Linked DNA regions of Homo sapiens: region 1 is linked to region 2. The links are contacts of gene promoters, found by promoter capture Hi-C in blood cells and fetal thymus (Javierre and others, 2016). All regions are on one chromosome and are shown on one strand. Each heading gives the region's core, a stretch centred on a gene start or on the middle of the fragment in contact. The rest is flanking DNA. Distances are from core to core; before and after follow the strand shown.

Region 1 (5,726 bases), core at 1,392-3,891, 1.4 Mb after region 2:
TTCATTAAGGTATTGTATAATTTTAAAGGTGAATCATCAAGTCTAGAAGGCCTTTTTTTGAACTTTTAAGTTTCACTGCCCTATAGAATCTATACATTATAAGTAAATACATAAATGTATTATATGTGCTGTTAATAGGAGTCATTCAAACAAAAGTTCTATGATAACATATACCTGGGAAAAGCTATGCTTAAAACAAACATATTTTCTTTTCCTTTCTGCAAGACTTAGCGTCTAAAGAATGTACAACTTGGTTGGGTGTGGTAGCTCTTGCCTGTAATCCCAGCACTTTGGGAGGCCAAGGCCGGCAGATTACCTGAGGTCAGGAGTTTGAGACCATCCTGACAAACATGGTAAAACCCTGCGTCTACTACAAAATACAAAATTAGCCAGGTGTGGTGGCGCATGCCTGTAATCCCAACTATTCGGGAGGCTGAGGCAGGAGAATCGCTTGAACCTGGGAGGTGGAGGTTGCAGTGAGCTGAGATCATGCCATTGCACTCCAACCTGGGTGACAAGAGCCAAGCTCTGTCTCAAAAAAAAAAAAAAAAAAGTACAACTTAAGACAAAGACCTGGGTCCATGTAGTTTAATTGGGTGAGAATCCTAGGAAACAGGAGTAAGGAAGTAGAGAGAAAGATGGGAAGGAGAAAAAACTAATACAAGGTTGCTTTACTGAGGTTGCTGCTGTTGGCAAACTGAAAAGCATACCGAATGTGTCCAGAATTGTGCACCTAAAGAATGGGAGGCCACGGCATTTATCTCTAAGTTCTTATCCCCATTAACTGAGAATTATTAACAATCTGCACTGCTAGTCTGCACTTAGCCACTGAATAAGGGGACAATCTCAGTGGGCTCCAGCAGTGTGGGAGAAAGGCAGAACACAAAAAAGCAGCACTCATTTAAAGTGGGTCTATGTAAGGGCTAGTGAATCTGAGCTCAAAGTGTCTATCTACCATGGGTGAGGACAAAGGGTGTGCTATGTGAGGCAACACAGGCATCTGTTAGAAATTCTTAGAGTCCTTGCCATGTCACTATATACTTTGAAACTCAATTTACTCTATAATTATTCTACTAGCTATAAGATGCAAAGAACTGAAAATACACAGAAACCTACTACCCTACAACTTTTTAGAAGACCTCTAGTTTTTCATACTCAACAAAATTCTCTGAAATACCACCTAATGAAATTTTATGGCTATCTACCTCACTGAAGTCCTAAGGAAGAATTCAAACTTTGTAGGCTAATGCAACTCAGATTAACCAAACAACTTCAATTTAACGATTTCATTAACATTGAGGAGTCTGCAGACTCTCACAAAGTGTGTTGACACTGAAAATTGATGTGATTCATAAAGTGAAGTATACTTAAATATATAACTGACAGTAGAAGATGCACCTGTATATATTTTTCCTTCTTTCAACAGATTTTCTTTTAAAAATACTCCATATTAAATGCTACAGAAAATAAAGTTAATGAGCAGGCATTGGTATCAAAAAAAGGGGAGAAGACATGTAAAATGTGGAAATGCTATAAAAGAGATATGAACCTGACGGGTTCCCTATATCCTATGCAAGGCATCCTGGACCCAAAACTTTTATTTCATATATTTATAAAATAAAAATGTTTCAAACTCTGACTACTGTGTATACATTTTGTTAAAAGTCTGGTGGTTATAAAATTGAACAAAAAACATAGCTGGCCTTTAGTTATGAGAAAATTCCACTTCCCAAAATACCTCTGAAAGCTTAAGGTAATTTTAAAAATAAATGAAATTATTAAAAAGGAATGAGAAAAAGTATTTTCATAATAGCCCATTTTTTGTTTTTATAGTATTTAAAATAATGGTATTTAAATTTTGAGCAAAGTTTTTCAAAGTAATCTATGATTCAGGTTCTAAAATCCAAAAAAAGTTAGGGTTCACCAGTGCCCAGTATAATATTTAAAACTCCTCTACCAACTCAAACTGCATATACAAACAATATATTAAAACTCAATTTTAAGGATTTTTTTATCACTTAGTTATTAGGTCAACTAATAATTAAAAGATATACTATTTAAAAGGACAACATTTTTTCATTATTAAAAGGTAAATCAGGAGCTAGAACTTCTTGAAGTTTGCATGAAAGGTCTAGTCAACACAGTATAAGAAACATTTAGGTCTTCAAGTTCTATCAGAACTCTCAATGAATTAATAATTAGCCTTATGATTTATTTTAATATAATGGCATCTGTGAATGACTCAAAAGTGTTGTAATTAATAACCCATTTTCTTACCAATTTCTTATAGGCATTCTAGAAAAAATACATGTGTCTTAAAGTAAAAGTGAGACAGAGAGAAAGAGAGAGAGAAAGAGACAGGTACAAGGGGAAAGGGAGGCGTGGAGAACAAAATCTGCAATGGGTACACACGTTTTACTTTGACCAACTACAGAGAATTCACAAATTATTTTTAGAAAGCACAATTCAAAAATATATGCTCTACAGCTTAAATTGTCTTACAAAATTCTAGAACAAAGTTCACATTAACATGACTTCTATTTAGTTATCCCATAACATTTAAATTTTTCAAACACCCATTTTAAAAAACAAATTCGTAATTTTAAACATGAGTGATGCCAACTTAAAGTTGCCAAACCAAGTTCAATATGATAATCAATGAACCAAATTATTTTGAATCTTATATCAAGATAATACCATAACTATTGCATTGACTAAACTCACCTTCAAAAACACTATGTCACAACTAAAAAATAAATTAGGAGCTACTAATAAAAGGACAATGACAACTAGGAAAGAATAGCACATTCATTAATTTAAAAAGAGTTCCATTTTTAATAACTTTGTGATTAAGACATTATTACAATGCAACTGCCTTTGTAAAAAAACAAGTACAAGGAAATGGGTTTAAAAGTATTTTTGCTCTACATAACATCCAGAAGCGCAGCTCTAAAACAGTTCCAAATTAAAGTGAACCAATGGAATCCCTAAATTATTTATTTAGAGTTGATATTATTCTTTCTTTATGAATTAACCTCTCTCCTGCCATCTGGTACAGCATTTTTTTTCCTTCAAAATGTAACTGAATTCATATTTTCTTCAAGAGGGTTTATCTGCCTCCCACTTTATCATCTTACACTTCCCTCATCTGCCATCCTTACGGTACTTTGTCATTCATTTATACATACTGTCTATTAAAACCAGGTGTGATTTTCCCAATAGAAAGTATAAATGGAAAAGCAAAGACTACTTTTGATTTACAATTTGTATAAATTAGAGAAGTTAATTAGGGTGCTCAGTCAGTGGAGGACAAAATATTTAAATTTTCATCATGCTCAAAAAATAAACATGAAAAGTATAAACAAATTAAATTAGTTGCTAAGATAAAATTCAAACTACAGAGGATGGCTTTCAATAAATAGCAGTCACTCAAAAGCAGAATTTAAATTTTTCACAATAGTTACTGTTTTCAAAGTAAGAGTTCCAAGGTCAGAAAAGCAATAATTTCAATGTCATTTTTCTAGAGACCATTGTTTTAAGCTTATTAAAAAGGCTTTTTCATTTTGTGTTATTGTCAAAAGAAAACCTTGCAGCTGACAGTCCAGTCATATCCATTAAGTTCTTTAATAGCAGTACACAGATCTTTTCGAAAAATTTATTAGCTCAAGGAGAAATGAACAGTAACACCACCAAATAGATAAAGAATTACTTATATGTGAAAAAAATGAATAGGTGGTGCTAAGGTTCATGCATTTTTACATGCCAGGACCACTTGATTTTTATATACTTGATGTGTATAAAAATAATATTTTTTCTCAATAACTCTATCCTAATTCTCCTTTTTAAAACATACAAAGCACAGAAAATAAGTTAGCAAGTATATATGTGATGCCATTTTAAGATAAAAATATATTTACAAACCATATACCTGATAAGGGGTTAATATCCAAAAGATATATAAAAAAAACCTCAAACTGAATAGCAAAAAAACAAATAATCTGACTAAAAAATGGGCAATGACCTGAATAGATATTTTTCCAAAGACAACACAAAAAATGGCCAATGGGTATATAGAAGGGTGCTCAACAAAACTAATCATCAGGAAAATGCAAATTAAAACCACAATAAGATACTACCTCCCATCTGTTAGGATGGCTATTATCAAAAAGACCAGAGATAACAAGCATTGGTGAGGATGTGAAGAAAAGTGAATCCTGTATACTTATGTTGGGTATGTAAATTAGTACAGCCAAAACAGTATGGAGGTTCCTAAAAAAATTAAAAATAAAACTACTACATGATTCAGCAATCCCACTATGGGTATTTATCCAAAGGAAATGAAATCAGTATGTCAAAGAGATATCTGCAATCCTATAATCATTGCAGCATTACTCACAATAGCTAAGAAACGAAAATAAATGGAGGTGAATCTATAGTGAAAAGACATGTGAGACTGAGAGTATAGAGAGAGACCGACTGCAAAGAAGTATGAGAAAATTTTGGCAGTGATGAAAATGTTCTACGCCTTATTGTGGTAATGGTTTTACAGAGATGCATGCATTGTCAAAACTTACGGAATTATATACTTTAAAAAGACACAATTTACTGTACATGAATCATATCTCAATAAATTTAATTTTTAAAAATGATGTGCCACAAGCATGGTATATGTTACAAAATTAAGATTATATTTCATTAAATTTGAGGGCCATCAAATTCTCTAAAAAAGCAAAAAAATACATGAGTATCAAAAGTCTTAAACTTTTAGAAATTCAGAACAATTTATTTGATTCTGACTTAGGCATATTGCCAAATACGGGCCCTAAGATGCCTTATCTGTAGATGACAAGACTACCAAATTCAAGTTCAAAGTACCTTTAATGGTCATTTTCTCTAACACAAGGTAAGTAAAGAAACTCATGACTAAGTGCAAACAAGTTCAGCTACCATTTCAAGGCATTAAAACAAAATGTTCAGAATTCAGATTGTCTTACATAGTTAAGCCATACAACGACCAGTCTTCTCAGCTCTTGAGCACCTGATACAGTGACACATCTAAAAGTGGGATAAAAAACATCCAAGGTGTTTGGTAATTAAGAGCCAAAAAGTAACCAGAAAACAAAAAGTTTGAAAACCTGCATCTTATAGCCAACATGTTATGAATAGTCATTTCTCTAATGTGGGAAGAAAACACCACCAATATTCTGACATGCTAAAAAGGTTGGACTTTTCATATAAAAACTTAGAAACACAAACAGCAAAAGGGGCAAAAAAAAAAAAAAGAAGAAAAAGAAAAAGTCATTTTAATACTGAGAAGACTACAGAACAGTCTAGGTAAAAATTCCAGGAGCCATCCAGTCTTTAATGTCATAGTCCTTAAATGCATTGAAGCAGTATAGCTACAGATAAAAGAGCTGTTATTTTTAAATTTCTGTATTTTACAAGCTTAGTGTGTTTCCTATATGCCAAATGTTGTTTTAAGTGCTTTTCAAATATTAACTCATTTAATTATAATACCAATCCATTGAGGCAGATATTTTACTTTATAGATGAGGAAACTGAAGTAGAGCGATTAAGTAAACTTTTCCAAGGTTACACAACAAACCTGGTAGTCAAAAGCTAAAGTCATGCTCCTAACCACAAACTTTGCTTCTCTTCATAAGTTTTTAATTCATGAACTTTCATGGATATGAGCAAAGCTTTGCAACAGAGGAAAGTACACAGAC
Region 2 (5,353 bases), core at 1,731-4,230:
GCTGTGGAATGATCTGATAAGGCCACATCAGGTGTCAGTCCTCGTCCCAGAAATTCTAGGATCAGATACACCAGGTGAACCCCTGTGAAAAGCAAATCCCAGGGAGGCTTAACAGCTATAGGAAAGTTAGGCACTACATGGCTTTCCACAATCAAAAGGAAGATCATAGGAAAGTAATGGGTGACCACATAGAAAAACAGGGAGGGAAATTTAAAAGTAAGTACTTCTATGCCAGGCACTGTTTTTTCACACATTCTTTTATATATACTCTTTGTTCTGTTTTGATGGATAAGAAATCAAGCAGCAGAGAAATTTTAATGGCCCAAAGTGACACAGCTAATAAAATAAGAGCCAGAAATCAAGCTCATGTCCAAAAGACTGTAAAAGTCATGCTACTTCTACATGAAGTTGTGGGGTGGAGTGAGGAGGGGTGGTAAATAGCCAAGAAGAAGGAGAAAAAGAAAGAAATTTACAATTTTATCAAATAACAGTGAAATATATATATATAAAACATGTATTATGTTCCACATATGTTCCATATATAATACGCAGTTAAGATGTATACATGTTTAACATATACTTAAGCTGCATATTTAGTATGTGTATATATGGAACAAAAAGTTGAAGAAACAAGTATCAAATTGTTAAGTGGTCATCTGAAAGTGGACTCATAGGAAACTCACTTATTGCCTTTTATACCCTCCCAGATTTAATTCTAAATAACTTTTTTTTGACTTTTTATTACTCTTATAACCAGAAAAAGACAAAGAACTATTCTAGCTTAGATCTTTTAAATGAGGCTAAATGCACAGAAACCCATGCAAGTTAAAAATGGTCTACTTTCGAATTTATTTTTCTAAGTACATCATCCTTTACACTCTCCATGATTCCTAATATTAGGTCCTTCTTATGGAACAACTACAAAAGTTATCCTCATCTAATTATTATACTCGTACACTGGAAAATGACTATAACATTATTCATTATAGGAAACAAATCATCAAGGTCAGCCATCCTTGTAAGTTTATTACTGAAAGTACTAGAAAGGCGGAATAATAATTCTGTTCTCCCACAACACTGTATAGACCTGCAAACCACTATGATCAGTAGTACAGGGAAAGTCTTGTAAATTAACATGTAACTATTGAGAAAATCCACAAAACTGGTGAAAGGCCTACCCCAAAACAGCCATCTCCAATACAATCTCATCATTCTCACCATCCTACTTTTATCAAAGTGCTGATAAAAGTGCGTAGCACATGGTAAGAGAGAATTAGCTATTGAATCAATGAAGGAACCCATTATCAATAAACAATCACTTCCTGTTTTCCATAAATTATGTGGTCACCTATCACTTGAGCACAAACAAATAGGCACGTTCAGGACACAGGCAGCCAGTATCAGAATAGGCAGCCTATCACAGAGGGCAATTCTACTTTTCCTGTGTAAGAATCCAAGAATGCAGTTTTACTACATTCCTGCTTGTAGCTAATCTGAATTTCAACTAATTTAAAACGGTTATTTATATGTGACATATAGGATGCATAATGAGCTCCCAACCTTGTGAGAGGAGCTGTGTTTCATTTCACCATACAGGGGAGAGGGAAGCAGTGTATTAAAGAAGTGATAGAAAAGTCCCACAGAAGAACCAATGAAATAGACCACACTGAAAATCACAGTAAGCCTCAGAGAACTTCAGTGTCCTTTTTGGCAACTTTTCAAAAGTGAATGGAATGCTTGCCAGGAGGTACCAAGAGTGAAAGCCCAGAGAAAAAGGCCCAGCCTGGTCATCTCTCTCCCCTCAAAACATCTTCTTCTGTAAGCTTGAGAGATCCCAAAGAACTTCAACACTTGTAATCTTGTTACTAACTTTATGCTTTGGGGTCCTAAAGGATTTTTTCAGGAGTACCCTTTTAAAATGTAAACATCCCTAGGGGGGTTACTGTTCATTATCAAACAGGACCTGGATTCTTTAGTGCTATGGTCTCAGGGATTAGTCAAAGCTGGCTAATAAGATAGGGGCCGGAGACAGACAACTAGAGAGGACCAATGTTCCAAGGTAAAAACAGGTAAAGGGGAAGTGCAGTTTTCTGTCGGGTCAAGGGGCTAAAAGGGATCCACATGCCCAAGCTGTTAAACTCTATAGACTGTGTGAGGCTGAAAACAGTCCGGGGCCTGGAGCCTGTGACTTTGAAGGTGGGTCCTCCAGTTCCCGATGAAAAGGTAGAATCTGGGCCCAAGTTCCCCACGAGCAGTTCTGGACATCTAGCCCTTCTCTCTCTCGCTCGCTCTCAGGATAAAGTCCTAGGTCCTTCCACCCCTGACCATTCCTTACTTACCCTTTCTCCCGCTCTTCCTCGGTGAGAAGGGGTAAGTGGTTATTTTGTGCCCTCGCCCAATTTGGCCAAAACCCTAAAAGTAAAAAACGACAGACAGACACGTGCTTTAAAATCATGTTGTTCAAGCCTGACGCTCTCCCACCACCTGCCCAACACTTCCAGGCAGAAGGCAGCGCGCCCCCACAGCGCTCCCTCACGGCCAGAGCCGGGGGCCGGACTAGGCCCCTTTGTGAGGACTGGGAGAGGGCGCGTTGTTGGGGCGCCGGCTCGGCGGGGAGGAGCGGGCCAGCTCCGGGCCAGGTGTGCCGCCTGTGGCGCCGGTTTCTCAACCTAGTTAGCCAGTGGCACCAAGAAGAGGACTAGGCTGGGGTGGCCGCCGCACGCGCCTCAGATAAACACGCGCACGCACACATGCTCGCGATCACGCAGGACTCGCGGCCGCGCACCCCTCCGCCTCCCGGCAACGCCCGCCCCGCCGGGGCCGGGGCCGACTCCCAGGGAAGGGTCCCCAGCCCAAGAGACCACCAAGGGTCGGCGGCTACGCGCCCGCCGACCCCTGCCAGCCTCACAGCCCCCCACCCGCCGCCGGACGCCGGGCGCCCGCCCTCCGCACCCGCTGCGCAGCTCAGCCCGGGGGAAGTCCCCGCGCAGACCCCGCCCTCCGCCGGCGGCAAGCTCCGCCCCGCTGCCCCGTCGCGCGCTGGCCGCCCGAAGCTCCGCCCCCGGCGGAAAACTGGTCTCTGGACCGCCCGCCCAGGTCGGGCTCAAAATGCGGCGTGGATCTGAAAGGATCAAACACAACACTAATTCAGCAAGCTATTATTGAGCACTTGCCCTAAGCTCAGCAACGTACTAATGGGGGAGACTACAATAAAGAGCCGAAAAGTCTATGAAACTGTGTCTTCAGCTCTTCCTCTTGTTTTAGAAGCCAGGAAACAGAGAACCCTCACAGTTACTTAAGTACAGGGCAGTAGTGGCAAAGCACCTCACTAGCGATCTCTGGGCAACTCTTCATTTCATTTTTTCCTACTCATGAGCACTCAGGAAAACTATTCAGTTTTGCTGCCTCCAGGTAAAACAAAGTGAGTAACACAGGACAGGCGGTTTACTTGAGAGAAACGGGAATTTCATACTGAAGCTTTTGCCCTCAAATGGTACAAACTCTTTTTTTTTTTTTCCTGAGACGGAGTCTCGCTCTGTCGCCAGAGCGACACTGCAATCTCCGCCTCCCGGGTTCACGCCATTCTCCTGCCTCAGCCTCCCTAGTAGCCGGGACTACAGGCCCCCGCCACCATGCCCGGCTAATCTTCTTGTATTTTTAGTAGAGATGGGATTTCACCGTGTTAGCAAAGATGGTCTCCATCTCCTGACCTCGTGATCCGCTCACCTAGGCCTCCCAAAGTGCTAGGATTACAGGCGTGAGCCACTGCGCCCGGCCGAATGGTACAAACTCTTAACTGGGTTATTACAACCTACAAAGAAACCTTCTTATCCATGTTATTAATTATCCTAATTCAATGTGGTTTAAAATGTTGATGAAAGTACCCAAATCATGGTGCTCCAACAAGCTGGATGCCAACCAGGTACTCGTAAGTACTTGCAATTACAGGTGCGATATTTTCATTCCATATCATCCCAAGATGCCCTTCCTTCACGTGAAGCAGCCAGAAAGATCAACTACCAGATTCCGCATGATTGAGGAATTGATAAATAGAAAGGGAAGACCGAAACCGGCCAAATTTTCCCTTCGAAGTGAAACTTGAGAAACTTGCGTGCATTTTACCTGAGTTCCTTTCTCAGCAGATAAACTGTCAGACCTCCCAGATAGTGTCAAGGAAATGCAACTTTCCAGAACACTACATCTGGACAATGAGGTGCATCTGCTGCCTGTTCACAAACTCCTCTTCCTTACCCCTCCATAATTCCCTGCTATAGAAAGCCCTAACTTTAGTCTCCCTAAGACATGTTTGAGACTGGTCTCCCTGCCAGCATCACCTGCATTAAAGCCTGTCTTCCCTGGCAATACTCGTTGTCTCAGGGACTGGTTTTCTTTGCTAGGAGCAACCCAACCTAGGCTGAAGCCCAGGCATTTAGCAGCAGTGGCACCTAGAAATACTGAACAGACATAAAATACTTTTTTTCTCCTTTTCTTACTCCTCCAGTTGTATCTTCATTATTTCTGTCTCTATTCTCCCTCTAGATACTGCCAAACTACTCTGTGCACTTTCAGATCACTTAATACTAATGTAAATAACAGACATTCTGGCACTCTTGGTTCAAAATTTATTCTAAAGGTTTAAGAATCTACTCAGGGTCTTAAATAGCCTGATAACTAAAATTCCAAGAGTTTCCTAAAGAGAGCAAAATTGCTCTCCTGTGAAGGGGATATGTCCCAGTTTTTCTTACTTGTCACTGAAATAATTACTGCAAAGTAAGCTCTTTTCGGCCAGTGCTTAAGGACTTAATTTCAAGAGCACTTAGGTGACAGGACCACCCTCATCAAATAGCAGTCAAGAACTATTTGGTACCATGACCCCAAATTGAATGGAGCTCCTGGTCACTAGGAACTGACAGTCTGGGATGGAATGTAGGTGAATAAACAACAAAGACAGGTGTTTATGGCCTTTATTGTATTGGGAAGTCAATAAACATACAAAAAGAGTTGCTAGGTCTGGCCTGATTTTATCACTAAGATTCATCAAGTGTACTTAAAAAGAAGCTAATATCTGGAAAGGGCAGAACTATGGTATATTAGTCAGGGTTTCCTAGAGGGACAGAACCAATAGGATAGACATATAAATATAAAGAGGAGTTTATTAAGTATTAACTTACATGATGACAAAGTCCCACAATAGGCTGTCTGCAAGCTTGAGGAGCAAGAGAGCCAGTCCGAGTCTCAAAATTGAAGAACTTTGAATCCGATGTTTGAGGGCAGTAAGCGTCCAGCACAGGAGAAAGCTGTAGGCTGAGAGACTAGGCCAGTCTCTCCTTTTCATGTTTTTCTGCCTGCTTTA

The links. Contacts are between HindIII fragments. The CHiCAGO score rates a contact against its expected background, and 5 or more counts as called.
Region 1: a fragment that was not itself captured here is called in contact with the fragment with the promoter of IMMP2L in region 2 in 1 of 17 cell types (monocytes); the score reaches 7.6 in monocytes.

Annotation. Positions count from the first base shown.
Region 1 is chr7:112,925,260-112,930,985 of GRCh38, forward strand. The region is part of intron 1 of SAMTOR (S-adenosylmethionine sensor upstream of mTORC1); the gene reads right to left. Among named protein-coding and RNA genes, the nearest start is that of SAMTOR, 12 kb to the right of the region's middle. The HindIII fragment of the contact is 1,793 bases long and covers 1,746-3,538 here.
Region 2 is chr7:111,559,512-111,564,864 of GRCh38, forward strand. It overlaps IMMP2L (inner mitochondrial membrane peptidase subunit 2), which reads right to left and starts at 2,981. Exons shown (of 6, transcript NM_032549.4): 1 at 2,340-2,981. RefSeq lists a silencer at 2,513-3,142. The HindIII fragment of the contact is 1,654 bases long and covers 1,822-3,475 here.